Regions from separate parts of the Homo sapiens genome. Here all the other regions are linked to region 3. Evidence: promoter capture Hi-C in 16 types of primary human blood cells and fetal thymus (Javierre and others, 2016). All regions are on one chromosome and are shown on one strand. The core of a region is centred on a gene start or on the middle of the fragment in contact, and the rest is flanking DNA. Distances in the headings are between cores, read along the strand shown. Region 1 overlaps NFKB1-AS1 (NFKB1 antisense RNA 1). Region 2 overlaps NFKB1-AS1 (NFKB1 antisense RNA 1). Region 3 holds the start of MANBA (mannosidase beta). Region 4 overlaps SLC9B2 (solute carrier family 9 member B2).

The links. Contacts are between HindIII fragments. The CHiCAGO score rates a contact against its expected background, and 5 or more counts as called.
Region 1: a fragment that was not itself captured here is called in contact with the fragment with the promoter of MANBA in region 3 in 4 of 17 cell types (naive CD4 T cells, M2 macrophages, fetal thymus and 1 more); the score reaches 6.2 in naive CD4 T cells.
Region 2: a contact is called between a fragment that was not itself captured here and the fragment with the promoter of MANBA in region 3, in 6 of 17 cell types (total CD4 T cells, fetal thymus, non-activated CD4 T cells and 3 more). The highest score is 9.4, in total CD4 T cells.
Region 4: a contact is called between a fragment that was not itself captured here and the fragment with the promoter of MANBA in region 3, in 5 of 17 cell types (erythroblasts, total B cells, neutrophils and 2 more). The highest score is 8.2, in erythroblasts.

Annotation. Positions count from the first base shown.
Region 1 is chr4:102,464,280-102,469,422 of GRCh38, reverse strand. The region is part of intron 1 of NFKB1-AS1 (NFKB1 antisense RNA 1); the gene reads left to right. Among named protein-coding and RNA genes, the nearest start is that of NFKB1, 35 kb to the left of the region's middle. RefSeq lists an enhancer at 4,899-5,143. The HindIII fragment of the contact is 1,147 bases long and covers 1,952-3,098 here.
Region 2 is chr4:102,437,767-102,442,239 of GRCh38, reverse strand. All of the region lies in intron 2 of NFKB1-AS1 (NFKB1 antisense RNA 1), which reads left to right. Among named protein-coding and RNA genes, the nearest start is that of NFKB1, 61 kb to the left of the region's middle. The HindIII fragment of the contact is 1,400 bases long and covers 1,407-2,806 here.
Region 3 is chr4:102,759,655-102,764,757 of GRCh38, reverse strand. It overlaps MANBA (mannosidase beta), which reads left to right and starts at 3,790. Exons shown (of 17, transcript NM_005908.4): 1 at 3,790-4,040. The coding sequence starts at 3,864. RefSeq lists a silencer at 3,626-3,755 and an enhancer at 3,846-4,195. The HindIII fragment of the contact is 23,862 bases long and covers 1-5,103 here.
Region 4 is chr4:103,029,387-103,034,025 of GRCh38, reverse strand. SLC9B2 (solute carrier family 9 member B2) reads left to right here. Exons shown (of 12, transcript NM_178833.7): 10 at 2,218-2,326. Among named protein-coding and RNA genes, the nearest start is that of SLC9B1, 12 kb to the right of the region's middle. The HindIII fragment of the contact is 2,118 bases long and covers 2,120-4,237 here.

The DNA of each region.
Region 1 (5,143 bases), core at 1,276-3,775, 290 kb after region 3:
GCAAGAACTACAACAACAATAATGATAAGAAGAAAAAATAAAATGTTAATTTTTCAGTATTATTTTAAATATTGAGCAAGAGTCTTAAATTTAAATGGCATCTGGCTAGCAGGTATTGTTTCAGTAACTCTCTGAATTCCTTGCAAAAATATTTACGGATGCCTATAATATCAGCTACTCCAGAGGCTGAGGCAGGAGCATCGCTTGAGCACAGGAATTTAAGACCAACCTGGACAGCATAGTGAGACCCTGTCTCAAAATATATGTATATTTATGAAGACACAGAAGAGGATAAAAACTCATAACATTGAAAACTAAGCCTGACAGTTTTTTAAGGTTATTCAAATAATAATAACACCATTCACAATTCATGGCCAGTATGAGTGGTTTTGATCTGTTTGTATTTTATTGTTTTTCCTCTTGAAATGGAATATACCTACATCTTGCAAGTAGGTAGAGAAAGCTACTAACAGCTCCCCTCTCAAATACAACTTTGATTCTCTACCAATGAATAAAAAGTGACGAGGGCTGTTTCTTTACAACCCAGGCATTATTTTTGAGGTATTCAGAGGATTGTTCAAACCCTGTCTTGTTCCATTGGTATCTGTCTTTATATATCCATGTTAAAACTGTAATCTTTATATATTCATTTAGAAAAAAACAAGACAGTTTTCTTAGTTCTTCTGGACAAAATATCATAGACTGAGTAACGGATAAACAATAGAAATTTATTGCTCACACTTCTGGAGGCTGAGGAGTGCAAGACTAAAGTGCCAATAGACTCAGTATCTGGAAAGGGTTCACTCTCTGATCTAGAGATGATGTCTTGTTGCTGTGTCCTCACATAGAAGAAAGTAAGGCAGTGCACTTCCATCTCTTTTGTAAGGGCACTAATCCCATTCATGAGGCCACAGCCATTGTGATTTAATCACTCCCCCAAAAGGCTGCACCTCATAATACTATCACATTAGATAATAGGTTTCAACGTGAATTTTGGGGGGATGTCAACATTTAGACTATGACATTCTGTTCCTGGCCCCCTATAATTCATGGCCCCCTCACATGGAGCATATATTTGTTCCATCCCAATAGCCCCCAGAATTTTAACTTGTTCCAGTACCAACTCAAAAGTCTAAAACTCGGTCTCATCTTAATATCAACTAAATCGGAGATGGCTGAGACTCAAGGTATGATTTATCCTGAGGCAAGTTACTCTCCAGCTGTGAAATCAAACATGTTATATACTTCCAAAATACAATGATGGGACAGGCATAGGATAGACATTTCCATTTCAAAAGGAAGGATTTTTTTTAAAAAGGGGATAGCAGGTTCCAACCAAATCCAAAACCCAATAGGGCAAACGTTAAACCTTAAGACTCCAGAATAATCTTCTTTGACTTGATATCTCATCTTCCAGACACACAGGGGTAGAGGCTGGGCCTCACAGGTCTGAACAGCCCTGCCCTCATGGCTTTGCCGGGTGCAGCCCATGCTGTAGTTGTCATTGTTTGGAGTTGCTTGCTGGTGGCTCTATTTTTGGGGGGTCTCAGAAGAGACTCTGCCTCTATGGCTCCTCTAGACATTGCTCTAGTGAGGACTCTCTGCAGTGGCTCTGAGGCTCTCTGGGTAATCCTTTGAAATCTAGGTGGAGGTAGCCATGTCCTCACAGCTCAAGCACTCTGGTGAGGTGGCACTGTGCAGATGCCACCAAGGTTTACTGCCTGTGCATCTGCACAGAGGAGAAACCTGAGCTGCTCTTGGGCCCATTTGAGCCACAGCTGAGGGGTTGAAGGAGTGCTGCACCAGAATGAGAGGGGCAGAAGTTTGAAATATTTCTGTTCTCAAGGCCCTGGTATTCTGGGCCTGTAATGGACAGGGCAGCTGCTGAAGATCTCGGAAATGTTTTCAGGCCCATTCTCCCATTGCCTTGATGAATAGAAGCAAGCAAGCTTCTGCCCATCCATACTAAATATCCTTTTCAAATAGTGACTTGGCCACACCCTTGCTGTTCGCCTTGAACACAATTTTTCATTCTTTACAACATGGCCAGGCTGAGAATTTTGCAAATCTTTAAGGTCTACTTCCTTGTTTGTTATAAATTCCATCTTTGGTTAGTTTTTCTCTTCTCATATTTTAGTATAAGCAGTCAACAGAAGCCAAGCCATGCTGCACTCTTCGCACTTCGCTTAGAGATTTCTTCCAAATATTTCATCGTTTCCAAGTTCTACCTTCCACAAAGCACTAGGAGATAAACACAATTCAGCCAAGTTGTTGCCACTTTATACAAGAATGGTTTTTTCTTCAGTTTCTAACAATGTGTTCCTTCCATCTGAGACCTCATCAGAATGGCCTTTAACATCCATATTTCTGTCAATATTCTGGTCACAACCACTTAGATAAAGTCTAAGAAGACTGAGGTTTCTTAACAGCTCTCCTTTTCTTCTGAGCCCTCACCAGAATATCAGAATATCGCTTTACTGTCCATTCCAGCAAAACAGGCTTTTTTTTTCAGCCTCTTCCTCCAAATCCTTCCAGACTCTGCTCATTACCCAGTTCCAAAGCCACTTCCACATTTTTAGGTATTTGTTAAAGCAGCACTCCACTTCTCAGTACCAATTTCTATCTTAGTTCATTTATGCTGCTATAAAAAAAATCTTAGGTTGGGTGGTTTAGGAACAGAAATTTAGTGCTCAACCTTTGAGGGTCTGGGAAGTTCAAGATTAAGGCATGAACAGATTCAGTGTCTGATGTTAGCTCCTTCCCTGCTTCAAAGATGATGCCTTCTTATTGTGTCCTCATGTGGTGGAAAGGGCAAGGCAGCTCTGTTATAGCACTGACCCCATTCATTAGGTTGAAATCCTTATGACTTAATCACTTCCTCAAAAGGCGCTACCTCTTAATACTACCACATTAGGCATTAGGTTCCAGCACATGGTTTTTCTGGGGGACATCAACATTTAGATCATAGCAACAGGATATATGGAGTTTTGGCGAGCATGTTAGGCAGAGGGTAGTGTGAATGATAGTGACTCATTACATACAGAGAAGTGCAGTCCTAAAAGAAACTAGATGTACTTAGCATAGATATTAGGAAAGCTTTGGACCATTAATTTTACATATTCTGTGGGATGAGAAGTTCAAAGAAGTTGAAGTTGACAGCCTAGGTCTGAGAAGACCCCAACTCAAGCCCTGTAAGACATGAAGATTTAATTAGAATATTTACATGCCAAGTTATCTCCAAGAAATGGCATAAAAAGAGAATTCTATTAACTCCAAAGAAAAGGCTGGGCTGGGCACAGTGACTCACACCTGTAATCCCAGTACTTTGGGAGGTCAAGGCAGGAGGATCACTTAAGACCAGGAGTCCAAGACCAGCTTGAGCAACAAATTGAGACCCTGTCTCTACAAAAATAAATAATAAATAAATAAATAAATAAATAAGCCAGGCATAGTGGCATGCACCTGTGTTCCCAGCTACTTGGGTGGCTGAGGTGGGAGGCTTGAGCCTGGGAGGTTAAGGCGGCAGTGAGCTAAGATTGTACCACTGCACTACAGCCTGGGCAACAGAGCAAGAACCTGTCTCAAAAAAGAAAAAAAAAAAAAAAAAGAAAAGAAAAGCCTAAGGGGTGAGGTAGGATCATGGACTTTGAATGTTGGTATTTACATGGAAAAAATTCTTTTTTCATGGAATTGGAGAGGGAAAAAAACTTCTGTGTATGCTTTTAAAAAGAAAATGACAAGAAAAGCTGATTTTTTTCTCCGATGATTCAGAGAGGGAGTACATATTTTTTAAATGATTTACTACTAGAACCAGGAAAATATTTTGGTAAACATCTTGGCAGTTATTAAAACAGTAAGATAATCTTTATGAAACTGGAACAGAAAGCCAAGAGGAGAGTAGAAATTAACCTAAAGACATAGTAGTGTGAAATGTACAGAAATGTGCTGGAGATAAAATCAGCTGCCAGAGAAGAGGAAATTGTCATGAAAATGAAAAATGCAATAGAATTAAAATCAACAATGTAGTTAGTAAAAGCAGACTTGTTATAACAAAAAAATTTAATCAGTGATGTGGTGGACTTACTTGAGAAGGTTTTGCAGAATGTAAGAGTAGACTAAAAAATATGTGTCAAGTTGACACGTAAAATCAACCATCGCATTAGATTTAAATAATTGTTGTAAGTTTGGTTGTAAAAATGAAATGCAAACATTGGAAATTGTTCTTAAAAGAAGACAGTGGAAAAACTACATATAGAATCAAATCACATTAATGTGGATCTGAATGTCCAGATAACATGAAGAAAGACTATGACTAAGTGAGAAAAATGTGAACTGGGAGAAAGCAAAAAGATAGTTACTTTTTAAAATCTTATGTGAAAGTTAGTAAAGAATGAAAAAGAATAATTTTTAAACACTAATATCAATAGAACTTAAAAGAGAGTTGATATCTTCCAAAGCTGCAGAAGATAAAATCAACCCAAAGAGCAAATGACAGAAAACAGAGGAAGTGGCATAGAAACCTGAAAAATAGAAAGAAAACAGCAAGAAAGAAAAAAGAAACAATACCCGCAGATAGCATAACAACACAAATGATATCAGTCCTGATAATAAATTTAAATGAGTTATACTACCCAGTTAAAACAGAGTTCTCCAAATATGGTTAAAAAACAACTGCTTAAAAAACCTTTGCTGCTTCCAAAAAGCACATCTAAAACAAACATAATTTTATTTATTTTATTTATTGATTGATTTATTATTTACTTATTTTAATAGGTTTTGGGGGAACAGGTGGTGTTTGGTTACATGAATAATTTCTTCAGTGGTGATTTCTGGGATTTTGGTGCACCCATCACCTGAGCAGTGTACACTTTATCAATGTGTAGTCTTTTATCCCTTGTCACCCCCCACCCTTTCCCCCAAGTCCCCAAAGTCCAATGTATCATTCTTATGCCTTTGCATCCAAAGAGTTTAGCTCCCACAGATGAGTGGGAACATGTGATATTTGGTTTTCTCTTTCTGAGTTACTTCACTTAGAATAATGGTCTCCAATTCCAGCCATGTTGCAGCAAATGCCATTATTTTGTTCCTTTTTCACGGCTGAGTAGTATTCCATGGTGTGTGTGTGTGTGTGTGTGTATATATA
Region 2 (4,473 bases), core at 857-3,356, 320 kb after region 3:
CTCCCAATGGTTTGACAACTGCTTATGGATGAAGTTCCTCAGTTCTGACCATCAGCTCACTGAATGTGCTCCAGTAAAGTTGCAAAGCGAGTCATTAAGCTTCGTCCACCACAGTGAGAACAACTTTTCCTCAGTCCATTTCCCATCAACCCCTGGGGAAATTTCTGAGTTGCCCACCTTGTCTGTTAGGCTTCTTTCCCTAGTTTTATCAGGTATGACCAGGGGACCATGACTACATTGTAGACGCATGGTTGTTGGGAGTCTGCAATAATAGATCGGGGCAAATTTAGGGGTTAATGTGTGCTGGAATAACATCCCAGTCATAGGTTGGGTCTCTCCAAAGCAGAGCCTGAGACAAAGACTTATGTACCGGAAGTTTACTTAGAAATATGATTCTGGAAAGCAGAAGTGCAGAACCAAGAGGAAAGGAAAGACAAAATAAAGATGCATTATTAACTTCTACAAATCTGACCCTTCTGTCAATGTGAGTTACTAAAAGAGTAATCTCCTCAAATAATACATAGTAAGAAATGAGCTGGGAGTTGCCAGTCTTCACTGGAGCTTGAGAACAAATCCAATGCAGATGAAGGTAGACCTAAGATAGGTGCACAAACCAATCCCGGTGACGTCACTTGAATCTCTGGATTGAGATACGCTGTATGTACCATTCCCCCTTCTCCAATTTTGTCATGTGAACCAGTTCATTTCTTTGTTGTTTAAGCCAGTTTGAATCATGTTTTCTGTCATTTGCAACCAAAGAGTTCCAACTGCTATACTTCCACAATAAAAAGCTCACATTTTATTCTGTTTGTCAGTATCTTCTCCAATAGATTGCCACCTCCTTGAGTTAAGGGCCTATGCATCTTATTTAACTTGTATCCCCAGCATCTAACAGAGCACCTGGCATGTAGTAGATGCTCAATGCATGTTGGATTGAAGGAATATGTTACATTAATTTGACATCTGTAATACTGATCATTTCTAGTCTCATCAATGCTTTCTTAAAGAATGTAAGTGGGTTAAACTTTTCTTGTGCAGGGAAGAAAAGAAGATACAAATTTGCAAGAAAATGTGATAAAATGCATTTACTCAGGGGAAAAAAAAGAGACTGGTTATGTGAAAGAGTTAACATTGCAAACATAATGTATCTCCTTAGACCATTTTTTCCTTGTTGACTGTAATACAACTAAAATGTTAATAAAGGTATAGTTATAATTCACTCATTTACTGTACCTAATATATAATGAAATTTTTTCTCTGATTTTTTTTATTCCTAAGGGAAGAATCTCTATATAAAATGAAGATCTAGCAAGGAGAAAATGTCATGATGTTGATAATCTTATTTAGCCTAAAAGAGTTACCATGAATTATGAGCTTATTGATTAGAAACTCACAAAATAAAAGCTTATTTATAACCTACTTCATACTTTTATATTAAGACTACACTACTTCTTCCCCTTAATTGAAATCCTTTCAGAGTAAGAACTGGAAAGTTCAGAAAGTCGATAATTTAATCTAACTATCCATCATTCTATCTGCATTTTTTGCACATAGTTTGCTGAATGGAGCACTTAAAGCAAACTTAGCATAACATCTTTAAACTATACATAATCTTCCAAATTGAGTTGTGAAGCCATTATCTGGGATTCCTACCATATAACTTTACTATTGGTAAGAAACTCATGGAAGTTGCAAGTGCTATTCAAATATATTTCTCTAGAACCCAACATTTAGAAAAACAGTACGCAGATTTAAAAAGAATAATATTATCATTAATAATACAAATGTTAAAATCTTAATATTTGGGGGTCTACAGTAAGTTTTAAGCAAGCTACAAACTCTATTTCCCTTCAGAACCCCAAATCCTGTTATTCTCACTAAGCCAAAAACATTAGCAGCTAATAGATTTCAACCCCTAAGTAACCCCCTGCCTTAGACTAATGGCAAGATTTCCAAAAAAATTTTTTTGTAGTCAAAATTCCAGATTCTGAATCAATAGAAAAGAAAAAAAATTTCATCCTCCTTGCTTTTTAGTAGGATCCAGAAATCAGAAACAAACTAAGTGTGATAGAGCAGTTCATGCTTCTTTCTTACCAGATAAAGGACTGACATGTCAACATTGGCTTCCTCCAGGCTTGACAATGCCTGGGTTTCTCTGGGTGTATGTGTGGCTGTATCTGTGTGTGTGTACAGACTATTCTGAAGGCTGAGCAGATGATTTGCAGATGTATTCCAGACATGCACAAGGTTGGAATGCATCAGTCATGACTCTGCATTTCTATAATGTTTGTTTTTATTTGTAAATGTTCACTCTATATTTTCCTCTTCCATGAACCTCTCTGAAATAAAGTTTTTCTTGATTAATTTCCTTTAAAATCATTTGTGTTAATTAGGGAAATTATTAAAATCTGAAAAAGACCTAATGCTATGATTTTGTAATGTGAATTTGAGGTTAGAACATTTTAAATTAATGAATCTCTGGTAAAGATGAAATATTTGACCTCTTCTGTAATTAATAAAATTTCGTTGCAGGATTAGGTAGATATCTGGTCAGATAGAGAAAAGACGACTTTAAAATCTAACATCTTCTCTTGATTTATGAAGAACCCTTCCTTATTTGTTTTCTTCCTCCCTCCCTTCGACCCTTCCTTCCTTTCTGTCTCCTACCCTTCCTTTTCTGCCTCTCCACTTTCATCTCCCCCTCCCTCCTTACCCTCTTTGTCTGTGTCTTTTTTCTTTTTTTAAAAAGATGATCTCAGTTTGGAATAAACATTCTTGCGAAATTAGCCAGGAATTTTGCCAAGCTTAGTGTGTACACGTCAGCTGTTTTCTGGAAAATAATTGCACCATGTGACAATGTCTATTATTTTAATTGGTACTGAGGAATGCCTCCAAGATATTTCATCAGGTCAGTATTTCTTACACAGGCAATGGCTTTTTATTTCCTGATGTGCTGATTAAGCAGATAAATAACAGTTTGACATGCTGTATAGGTGAACAAAATAATTGCTATAATTAATAAGCCAGAACTCAAAGAAGTAGTAAACCATTCTTCCTGTATACAAAAGGCTTTAGGACCTGCAGCCTGAGGAAGTTGAAGTATTCAAATTACCCAAAGGAAATGTTAACCCAACTCTACAAGCATGGGAAGACCACTCTCTGGGAAGGCCCTGATGTGTCTGGGGAGCTCAAAGTGCTTTGTCATACAGTCTCTAAGCTTTAGCTAGTCATCTGGGGTCTGTTGCATTTCCAGAATACTTGCATATGTTTGCATACTAAATTCAAGAGGTATTAATTTCAAGAGCTGAAAAAAAGAGTCACTTTGTAAAACTGTATGGAGAATACATGTTCAGAAATTCGTGAATCTGAAAACAAAAATGTGTTTAATAGTGATAGAGGTGGTGGGGTGGGGAACAGAAGGATTATTTCCTCTTTCCACAGCTGTTCCCCAACATTACTGCAGGGTGAACTAAAGATTAGAATAAGAAGTGTTCCTCTGAAAAGGAAAATATTTAATAATTATTATGCTGTGTCACACTGTAACAATGGGATTTGGGGATATAACAAAATACACATTTGTATACTGTTTTTGTCTGTCTTCTGTGTGAGTAAAGGTGGTTAGTCAGTTTTATTGTGAGACTTTGTAGAGACTGGGAGGCCACACCCCTGTGGGTAGACATCATCTCTGGTCAAGGGAGTGCTAATCCCTGAGGTCAGCCACTCGGAGAAGAGGAGATTCTTAGCTGGGAACTGGACTAACAATGGTTGGAAGAAGAAATTCCCCTCTTCGAACTCGACTAACATGGGTGGGAAAAAGAAATTTTCCTGTTCTTCTGGGTCTTAATCTCTTAGTCTAAAAAATTCAGAGATACTGTGTTTGTACTTAGGAGAGGTGGTGTGTTAGGCCATTTTTGTGTTGCTATAAATACCCGAGACTGGGTCATTTATAAAGAAAAGAGGTTTAATTGGCTCTTGGTTCTGCAGGCTGTACAAGCATGGCACCAGCATCTTGGCTGGGCTTCTCAGGGGCCTCAGGGAGCTTTGCAAGCACATCACATGGCGAGAGTGGGAGCAAGGTGCGGGGAGGTGCCCTACAATTTTAAATAACCAGATCTCGTAAGAACTTACTCATTATCACAAAGTCGACACCAAGACATGATGGATCTGCCCCCATGACCTGAGCACCTCCCAGCCGGCCCCACCTCCAACCTTGGTGATTACATTTCAACATGAGATTTGGGGAGGACAAATATCCAAATCATATCTGGTGAGTTCTACGATAGTGCCTGTCACTTACTTGGATCCTAGAGCCTTGATTCAGCCAGGCTTCAAGCCGTGCACATCATAATGTGTGAGCTATATTATCTATGTAAAGAATGACATTGCTCAGTTTACACTCAGTATTTTTAAATGTCACATTTCCCTACTATTTGTCTGGTTCATCCCTCCATTCCTTAGCACGGACAAGAAGTT
Region 3 (5,103 bases), core at 2,541-5,040:
CTGTGAACTTCACAGTGCTTCTCAGCTATGTTTCACCCCCTTAGATGGGGCAGAATGTCTATGGGGGGCTGGAGTTGGGTATTTTCCTTCTCCCAGGCTGGCGAGACTCTGATAAAACCCCAGTTGGTTCAGCTCTGGTAAAATTGTTTCTTTTGAGAGTGGGTCTTGTTAAGAAGCACAGAATCTCTGGCACATTCAGAATAGTTACTTTCCTCCTCCCTTGCAGGAAACACGAGAGGATTTTTCTTCAATCTTCACTATGAGAGCTTTGTGGAGCTCCTGGAGGCAAACTTACAAAAGCACAGCTGCTCCCCTAAGACTGGGCCCCCTTGGAGTTTTTAACTCTCAAATTTGTGCATATTGGTCCTCCAGTAATTTGTCAATTATAGTCCAGGTCTTCCTACTCTGTACTGGTTCCCACTGAGATTTCAGCTATGGGACAACGGTTGTGGGGTAGTGTGTGTGGTCTACTCAGTTAAGTTGTAATTGCCTGTATCTACCTGTCTACATCTCTAATTTTGGGGCAGCAGTCTGCCCTGTGACCTCACTTCTTTGACTCATCTAAGAAGAGTTGTCTATTTTCAATTTGTGCAGCTTTTTACTTGCTTTTTAGGATAGAGTGATGACTTCCAAGGTCCTTACATGCCAGGCCAGAAATTGGAAATCTATTATTGTTTTGACCCATGCATTATTTAGGAATATAATATATTATATTCCTAATTATATAATTATATTATATAATATAATTATATTATATATTTTTATATATTTATATTATTATATAAATTATATATATTTAAAATATATATTTGTATATGTATGTATATATGTATATATACAGTATATGTATGTATGTATATATACAGTATATGTATATATATACGTATATGTATATATGTATATATACAGTATATGTATATATATACACAGTTTGCTGACATAGGCCATGTGTCCTCTAGTTGACTTCTTGGACTCTCTTGGGTAGAATCCCATTATACTGGCTCAAGCCTGGTTACTTCCTACGGTGTCCTCTTGGTTTATAGGAAACTCATGCATATGCATCCTTGACACACCAAATTCTAGTGGTGTACATAGTTTCCACTACCTTCTCTCTTTGTTCTAACATTTGGGGCTTCAAACTCTGGGGAAGTATGTCAAACCTTTGGGCAGGATACTTATGGGCTATTATCCCCAGTCCTGGGGTTTAATCAGACACTATGAGTCTAAAGGCAAATGTCCACTCCACATCTGATTACTCTTTCATTTTCTTTCCCTTATTATAACTTCTGTAATATATCATGGGATTGGAATATCATTGGCCTTGGTATATACCATGGTGTTCTAATGAGTTTACCAATTTTATATATTTAGATATGAAGGAAATGTTGTCATATAGCAAAGGGCCTAACTACTTCCATTGGTCTGTTGTGACAGGATACTGACCCTACACATCATTTAATCACCGTGGGCATTATTTATCTTTTTAAACCAGGGAACGATCACTTGTTCTAAATAATTCAAGTTTTGGGAAGCATCAAATGAAATGATCAAAATGAAATCTGTTTATACAGTGTAAGTTAAAGATACCCATAACTATTTTAAACATTGCATTTGGTATCATGACTTTAAATTACATAAGTTGAGAAGTTTTATGTTATCTCTAAATAAGGTTTATTTACCAGAAAATCATGGACAAAAATTATCCTATAACAAAATGAAAACATCATGTCATCTGTGCCAATTGCAATTTTAGGAAGAGTACTTATTAGGGCTTTGATTATTCTTTGATGTTCTCTGTTGTCAAAGTGAAGTAACCTAAATGATGTTATGCTTGCATCCTGGAATGAAAGGAGGAATGAGAATCTTCTATTATTGTTTTTCTAAAAATTATATTTCTTAATAAACAGAATATATCCATATGTATCATCAAGGATGAATTTTCCTCTGATTTGGCTTAATGAAATCTCTGGGAATTATGAAAAAATTCCTTTGCCGCTCTTGTTGCCATAAACCTTGTGTTATCAGTGTTGCACAGACCATGGCTAGCCATTTAATGCCGTGAATTATGGCATATAATTTGAATTGAGAGCTTTGTTTCTATCAAAGGTAAAAATGCTTCTGGAGTGAGTGAGGAAGGCTTTGAAGCAGTGAGAGCGTTTCCCCTATAGCATCATTGGGCTCTGACAGTAGGACCTTGAAGAGGAGGGTTCTAATCCTGTCTGCCACTATGTGACAGGCAAGTCACCTGATCTTTTTTTTTTTTTTTTTTTTAGAGTCTTTCTCTATAGCCCAGGCTGGAGTGCAGTAGTGCCATCTCGGCTTACTGCAACCTCTGCTTCCTGGGTTCAAGCGGTTCTCCTGCCTCAGTTTCCCGAGCACCTGCGACTACAGGCACGTGCCACCACGCGCCCAGCTAATTTTTGTATTTTTAATAGAGACAGGGTTTCACCATGTTGGCCAGGCTGGCCTCGAACTCCTGACCTCAAGTGATCCACCCGCCTCGGCCTCCCAGAAGTGCTGGGATTACAGACGTGAGCCACCGCGCCTGGCCCCGATCTCTTTGAACTCAGTTCCCTCATCTGTAAAGCCAGCGGCTTGGGTTGGATAATCCATACTGTCCTTTAAGCCAAGATATTCAGGGCTTGTAAATAATGCTGACTTTGCAAAGTAAGATATTGCCCGGTGTCTGCAGAATCAGGCAATTCCAAGGCCATTGTAAGGCGAAACAAAGCTCAGATTTGATGAGAGAAAATTTCTTTTCAAGGACTTCTTCCGAAGCATAAATATACGGCAGATAGCGTCAACACAGGAGAAAGGCAGTCTATTTTATGCAATGTAAAATTCCGTCTTAACTTCTAGGATTACTGTTACATCCTATTGCAAAAATGGGACTCAGGTAGACCATTTGACTACAAGACCCGAAATAAGTCAGTGGTATTTCTTGGGTACTCTGGCATTGTTAGGGACGATCACATATGTTTACTCATTTTATACTTATAACACCTTGAAAACTTCAAGAAACGGAGATGGAGATTTTGCGGCTTGCCCAGGTCCCACAGCTAGTGAGTGCAGAGGATTTTAAACTCAGCTGCGCGCCTAGTGCAGGTTCCAGAACCTCAGAAACCTCCGTGGGGCTTTATGAAACATAAGGACGCAGGCCGCTAGTAACAATAGCTAACGTGAATGCCTTCTCTGGGCCAGGCTCCATGCTGCATGCTATAGTCGCATTTTCTTGGTTAGCCCTCAGAACAACCTTCTGATGGAGATACTGCTAGTACTTGTTTACTCTTTGAAGGGCGGGGTAGGCTCTGAGACCCGCGAGTTGAGCTGCAGCGGGGTGAGTGTTACGCTACCAGGTAGACGAGGGTCTGTGTAAATTTGGCGGAAGGGAAGTGGTGGGTTGTCTCCCAGTTTGGGTTCTCTGAAGGAGTGAGGGGACTCTCCAGCTATGGTCTCCACGTACAGTCGGTCTCTGATCTCCCGAGGCTTTGTGCCACTGCGCGCCCAGGGATCTTTCTGTCCCAATTACCGTGCAAGATTCTTGCCTCCAGTTGTATGTACTGAGGCGGCGGGAAGAAGCGCCGAGGGAAGGCTCAGACCGCAATGCCCCCCAGCCTGTAGCTATTCTCGGGGGCTGCAGCTCCCGCACCCGCGACGCCCGGCTTTCAGCGGGTGCAGGCGCAGCCTCCTCGTTCCCCTCCCGCCCGCGGCTGCGCCCGGAGAGCGCTCAGCTGACCTAGGGGCGGGGCCGGGGCGGGGACCTAAAGCCTCGGCTACTTCCGAGGGGGTGAGTGGCTTCACCGCCGGTCCCTTGCAGCGCTGCCTTTCGATCTCTCCACATCTCGGTGGCGCGGGATCTCAAGATGCGCCTCCACCTGCTCCTGCTGCTCGCGCTGTGCGGTGCAGGCACCACCGCCGCGGAGCTCAGTTACAGCTTGCGTGGCAACTGGAGCATCTGCAATGGGAACGGCTCGCTGGAGCTGCCCGGGGCGGTCCCTGGCTGCGTGCACAGCGCCTTGTTCCAGCAGGGCCTGATCCAGGTATGGCGTGCGGCCGACCCGCGGCGAGCCTGCGCCCGCCTTCTTCTGGTGCTGAGAGGGGCCCAGGAACCGCCTGGCAGCCCCCAGCTCTGGGCCATTCTCGTCGGTTTGGTAGTAACTTCCCCTTTGCATCTTGTGATCTGCGGGGGGAAATGCCCAAGCTATGGGGTACGGGCTTGACGGAGACTGAGCGACCGACCCATGTTGGGACATCAGTAACTCTGGAAAGGGGAAGTTTAGATAGGGGAACAGTGTTGCTACTAGCAGTTTACTTACTGCAGTCGTTCTCTACTGAAGCGTGTATACAAAGGGCATGCCGTCACTGACAAGCATAAGGTCGGGAATTACTGTCTCTACTGTCTGCACGCCACAGGGGACAACAGCGTTTTGTTAAGTAAGGGTTAACTCTATTGAGTAATGTCTCGGTTTTTTATTTTCGCTGTTAAGCGTCAGGGAGTCAGATTTGGGATTGACGCAGCACAGACGTTGTGGAGAATGACCTACAAGAGTAAAGTTGGGTTTGTCAGTGCTAGTGTGGCTAACAACGGGTAAATAATTTTTAAGGCTAACTTGGTGATGAAGAAAGGTGCTATTTCCTCTCAGGGCGTGTGTGTGTGTGTGTGTGTGTATCCCAATGGAGTCTCCAATTTACAGACTACTTGTGGGGAACGTTTTCGTGTTTGGCTGCCTGTGCGCATAGGTTTGCAAACTGACTTCCATCCTCCAACTGCTTTTGCTGTTCCCTCTTGCACAGCGTTCCCACGTGTTGTCTTTACTTGGGGCAAAATGTACTTGTAATTGATCTACTTGTGGGATGCATACATTGTCCAATCCTCATAACAACTCTGTATAGTAAGTGTTCATATCTGAATTTTATGGATAATATGGAATTATGGAACACAGAGAAATTAGGAAGGTGACAGCAACTAAATGGAAAGAAATGGAATTCTAACCCAGGTGGTCTCAACTCCATAGCCTGGTCTCTATACTATGTGGTATGCTTAGTTTGGTGTTTTAAAAAATCATGTGTTTTTGAAGCACTGTGGCTGACTTTCAGGAGCAC
Region 4 (4,639 bases), core at 1,929-4,428, 270 kb before region 3:
GATTTGCTCCTTTTGCTTAGGATTGCTTTTGGCTATTCGGGCTCTTTTTTGGCTCCAAATGAATTTTATAATGTTTTTTCTAATTCTGTGAAAAATGTCATTGGTAGTTTGATAGGAATATCATTGAATCTATAAATAGCCTTGGACAATATGGCCATTTTAACAATATTGATTCTTCCTATCCATGAGCATGGTATGTTTTTCCATTTGGGTCATCTCTGATTTCTTTCAGCAGTGTTTTGTAATTCTCATTGTAGAGATTTTTTACCTCCCTGGTTAGCTGTATTCCTAGATATTTTGTTCTTCTTTTGGCGATTGTGAATGAGATCACGTTCTTGATTTGGCTCTCAGCTTGTACGTTATTTGTGTATAGAAATAATGATTTTTGTGCATTGATTTTTTATCCTAAAACTTTGCTGAAGTTGTTTATAAGATCTAGAAGCCTCTGAGCAGAGACTATGAAGTTTTCTAGGTATAGTATCTCTGTACTATTCTTGGTATAGTATTTCCAGGTATAGTATAATCTGCGAAGAGAAATAGTTTGACTTCCTCTCTTCCTAATTGGATGCCTTTTCTTTCTTTCTCTTGCCTGATTGCTCTTGCTAGGACTTCCAGTACTCCGGTTAAATAGGAGTGGTGAAAGTGGGCATCCTTGTCTTATTCTGGTTCTCAAAAGGAATGCTTCCAGCTTTTGCCTATTCAGTATGATGATGCTGTCTCTGGGTTCATTGCCCATTTTTCTGTTAGGATCTATGTCTTTTTTTTATTGATTGGCCAATGTTTCTTATTCTGTTACACATGGTACAGATATTTTCTTCTAGTTTGTCACTTTTTTGGTTTATGGCTTCTTTTGCCACAAAACATTTTGATGTTACTCTAGTCAATTGTGTCACTGTTTTCCTAGAGTCTTTTGCATTATGTGTTACAAAGTTAGTTCTTGTATCAATTAGGGTCCTATGAGGAAAGAGAAATCAAATAGTAACTGGAATAGGAAAAGTTGATTATTAACCACACCAGGGATTCCAGTAACAAGGTATTGGCTAGTAAGATGTGAAGACATCCTTAAAGAATATGAGAATAGCACCTATGGCTATAATAGATCATCCCCTTAAGCCTGTACCCTCCACATTCCTGCCTGCAGGGCTGAGATCCAGACTCTGTTAGAGCCTAGAGAAGTCGCTGTGGTGCTGTGCTTGCAGAATTTGCTGAAAATCTACCCTCCCAATTTGCAGGAGATCCATCCCCTTGGGTGCATGGGGAAGTATCTTGCTCAAGAGAATCTGCTACGAAACTGCCCCAGGGGTATGCTAGGGAATGTAATGGCCACTAGGTGCTGCTGGTTGCATGAATTGTAGGACCCTGATACTGGAGAAGCCACCTGGGATGCAGGAACCTAGAGCTAAGGCCACCAGTGCATGCTATAAGATCTTGCTAGGAAGAGCCACAGAAACCAGGAAGAAAAGCACCTTCAGCTTGCAATATCTCTTTAGCACACTCTACTGACAAAGTTTAACATGGTGCTACCTGGCAAAGGAAAAATATTTTAAAGGCCCAGCTCCATTTTCTGTGGAGCAACAGTGAAAGAGGAGCTGGAGATAATGGGCAATAAAGTGATAATTGGCACTGATAATCACTTTAGTAAACCTGGATTTTATTTTTGTGCGTGATTTGAGATAACCTTAAACAGTATTTTTTGTACAGATAAAATTGGAAACAATTTAAAGATCTGTCAATAAAGAAATGATTGAATAAACTATGGTACTTCTATACTGTAGATCACTATGCAGCAGTAATAGGGGCATATCTAGATATATGTACCAATATTGCAAGCTCTCTAAATCATATTGTTGAAGGAAAGTCGACATAAAATTTTAAACTACAAAACACTACTATATATTACAATATGTATACACACATGCACATACACACGATGTATTCAGAAGTAGGAGTCCTCATAAGATTACTTTATAAGAATCTTTTTATTAATATCCATGTGCAAACTAATATTTAGTATGCTAAAACACCTCATGTATCTTAACTGTGATAGAAAGATCTTCATGCAGTTTTTTTGCTCTGTTCTAGCTAACCTTTTAGTTATAGATGGCACAGAAATAAAGCTTATCTCAGGCCAAATAATTCAAACCTCAAATTAATAAAATTCTTTGCATTTGTAACTTCACATAATAAAAATCTGTGTGTGTTTTATTGTTATTTTAGGCAGAGGTTGAAAAGATAATTGCAGTTGCCTGGGACATTTTTCAGCCCCTTCTTTTTGGACTAATTGGAGCAGAGGTATCTATTGCATCTCTCAGACCAGAAACTGTAGGTAAGAATTTCAAAATGTGCTTTTGTTAAAATTCACTTTTTTTGGTCAGCCTACTCACCAATAAAGTCTACTTTTTATATTCATTGAAATATCTCCAGCAGGTATGTGTACAGTGGTTACTATTGTCACAATTATATAAAAAGTTAATTATGATGTAAGTTTTTTAGAGTAGTTGGTTAGAAAATAATGCTTGTTCATCTAAGATGGTATATTTTACACATTTAATATTGTTCCTTGTATATGAAAGTGACACTGCTGACCACTACCCAGAAAATTCAGGCCTTAACAATTCTTTTTCCAAGGGTAAGAATATTCATCTAGCCTTGTCCTGAACAAGAGCGAGAATTTTAAAGACAACTAGTTAGTTCTATAGTTTGTACCCATGGGATAGAAATGCCTTGTTGTTCATTAATTATTTTATTTATTCCTACATTCAAAAGCCATCATATTAAAACTCTGTTGATTCAAAACACTGCACTTAAAAATTAATTTGTATATATGTACTCATTATTTCCTTCTTTCCTTCCATCACAGTATTCTTCCATCCATACTAGGAATCCCATCTCCCGCTACTCCTTCTGAATCTTGCATATGGATTCTTTCCTTTTCTCATACATCTTAAATATCCATGTCGCAATTTTCTTCTCTTCAGAATTTAGTCTCCAATCTCTCTTATCTTAAAAAAAAATGCTTCTCTTCTGACACATGCTGCAACATGGATGAACCTTGAGAACATTATGCTAAGCGAAATAAGCCAGTCAGAAAAAGACTAACCCTGTATGATTCCACTTACATGAGGTATCCAGAGTAGTCAGACTCATAAATGGTACTTGCCAGGGGCTGGGAGTAAAGGGAAATTGTTGTTTAATGGGTATAGAGTTTAAATTCTGTGAGATGAAAAAATTCTGGAGATTGGTTGCATAATAGTGTGAATATACTTAATGATACTAACTATACACATAAAAATGGTTAAGATGGTAAATGTTATGTGTATTTTACTACAATTAAAATAATGTATATTAAAATAATATGTTAAAATTATATATATATAAAATTCCTCTATTTCACTTCCCCCCGTCTCTACCATGCTACCTCTCTTGTCTTCTTTTCGGACTTTTCAAAAGAGGTCACTACATTCCCCTTTCCACTTCAGTTCCCATTTCCTCCTTCTATACATTTTAGCCCAGCTTCTGCCTATCACACAACCTGCCAACCTCTCACACAACCTGCCAGCCTCTCACCAAGGTAATATTGCTAAATCCAGTCTTTGCTTTACTTGATCTGTCAGCAGCATTTGCTGCTTTTGACCCTCTAACACTCCTTTATATTAAGTTCTTAAACTTCCTATTTCCCAGTGCTGTTTGAGCCTTTCCTTACACCATATGTAGCTTAAATGCTGCCCTTTATCAAATTGCTTTCTAACTTTGTGCCTCTGGCTCTATATAACTTCTCTAACCTTATCTATACTAGTGACATCAACTATAAACTGTATAATTCCAAACTATTTATCTCTAAATCAATATATCCAATTGTTGATTGGACAGCACCACTTGTATGTCCTGTTAACGTTCAAACTCAACTAAAACTTCCTTCTCATCCTCTTCTCAAACTTTCAATGTTTCCTTCTGGGAATGATATCAACTCTTTATCTTGTACTTCAGGCTACAGATATTTTTGAATACTTTCCAACCTTGAAGAAATACCTTTCAACAAAGAACCACAAAACTTTCCCATAAAAAAGCCATATGGCAGATTTACAATAGATCCTCCCGCTATGTCTGTCTGATGTTTTACCCGCCCTTTGAATTTGAGAAAACTACTTATCCTTTCTGAGCTTCTGGTTTTTTCAACTATAAAATAATACTTACTCCACGGGTTGTAAGGACTAAGTAAAATAATACATTTAAAGCTTAGTACAGCATTTGGCACAGAGTAAACACTCAACAAATGTTACTTTTTAAAAAATCACCCTAATACTCAGGAGTCACCTTAGCTGTATCATTCTTAGGTCCAGTAGCATGTAGCAGCACTACTCACAATCCCTTGTTTGGCAAATGATGATGAACTTGTCTTTATCAGCAAAGAATTCTACAGGACTAAATGGAGTAGCTGTGTATGTTAACCAGGGATAATTGGGACCAGTACGACCAGTACACATCAGTATGGTGAAACAGTGGTAGACTGCCAGTGTCTATTCTGATTGGTCAGTGCCCAGCCAGCTCTGATTGGCTAATTCCCTCCATACTGGCTCATAAATATTTTAGCTATCACTTCTGGTCTTATACCCTGTAAAGAATTATTGACTTTTTGGGT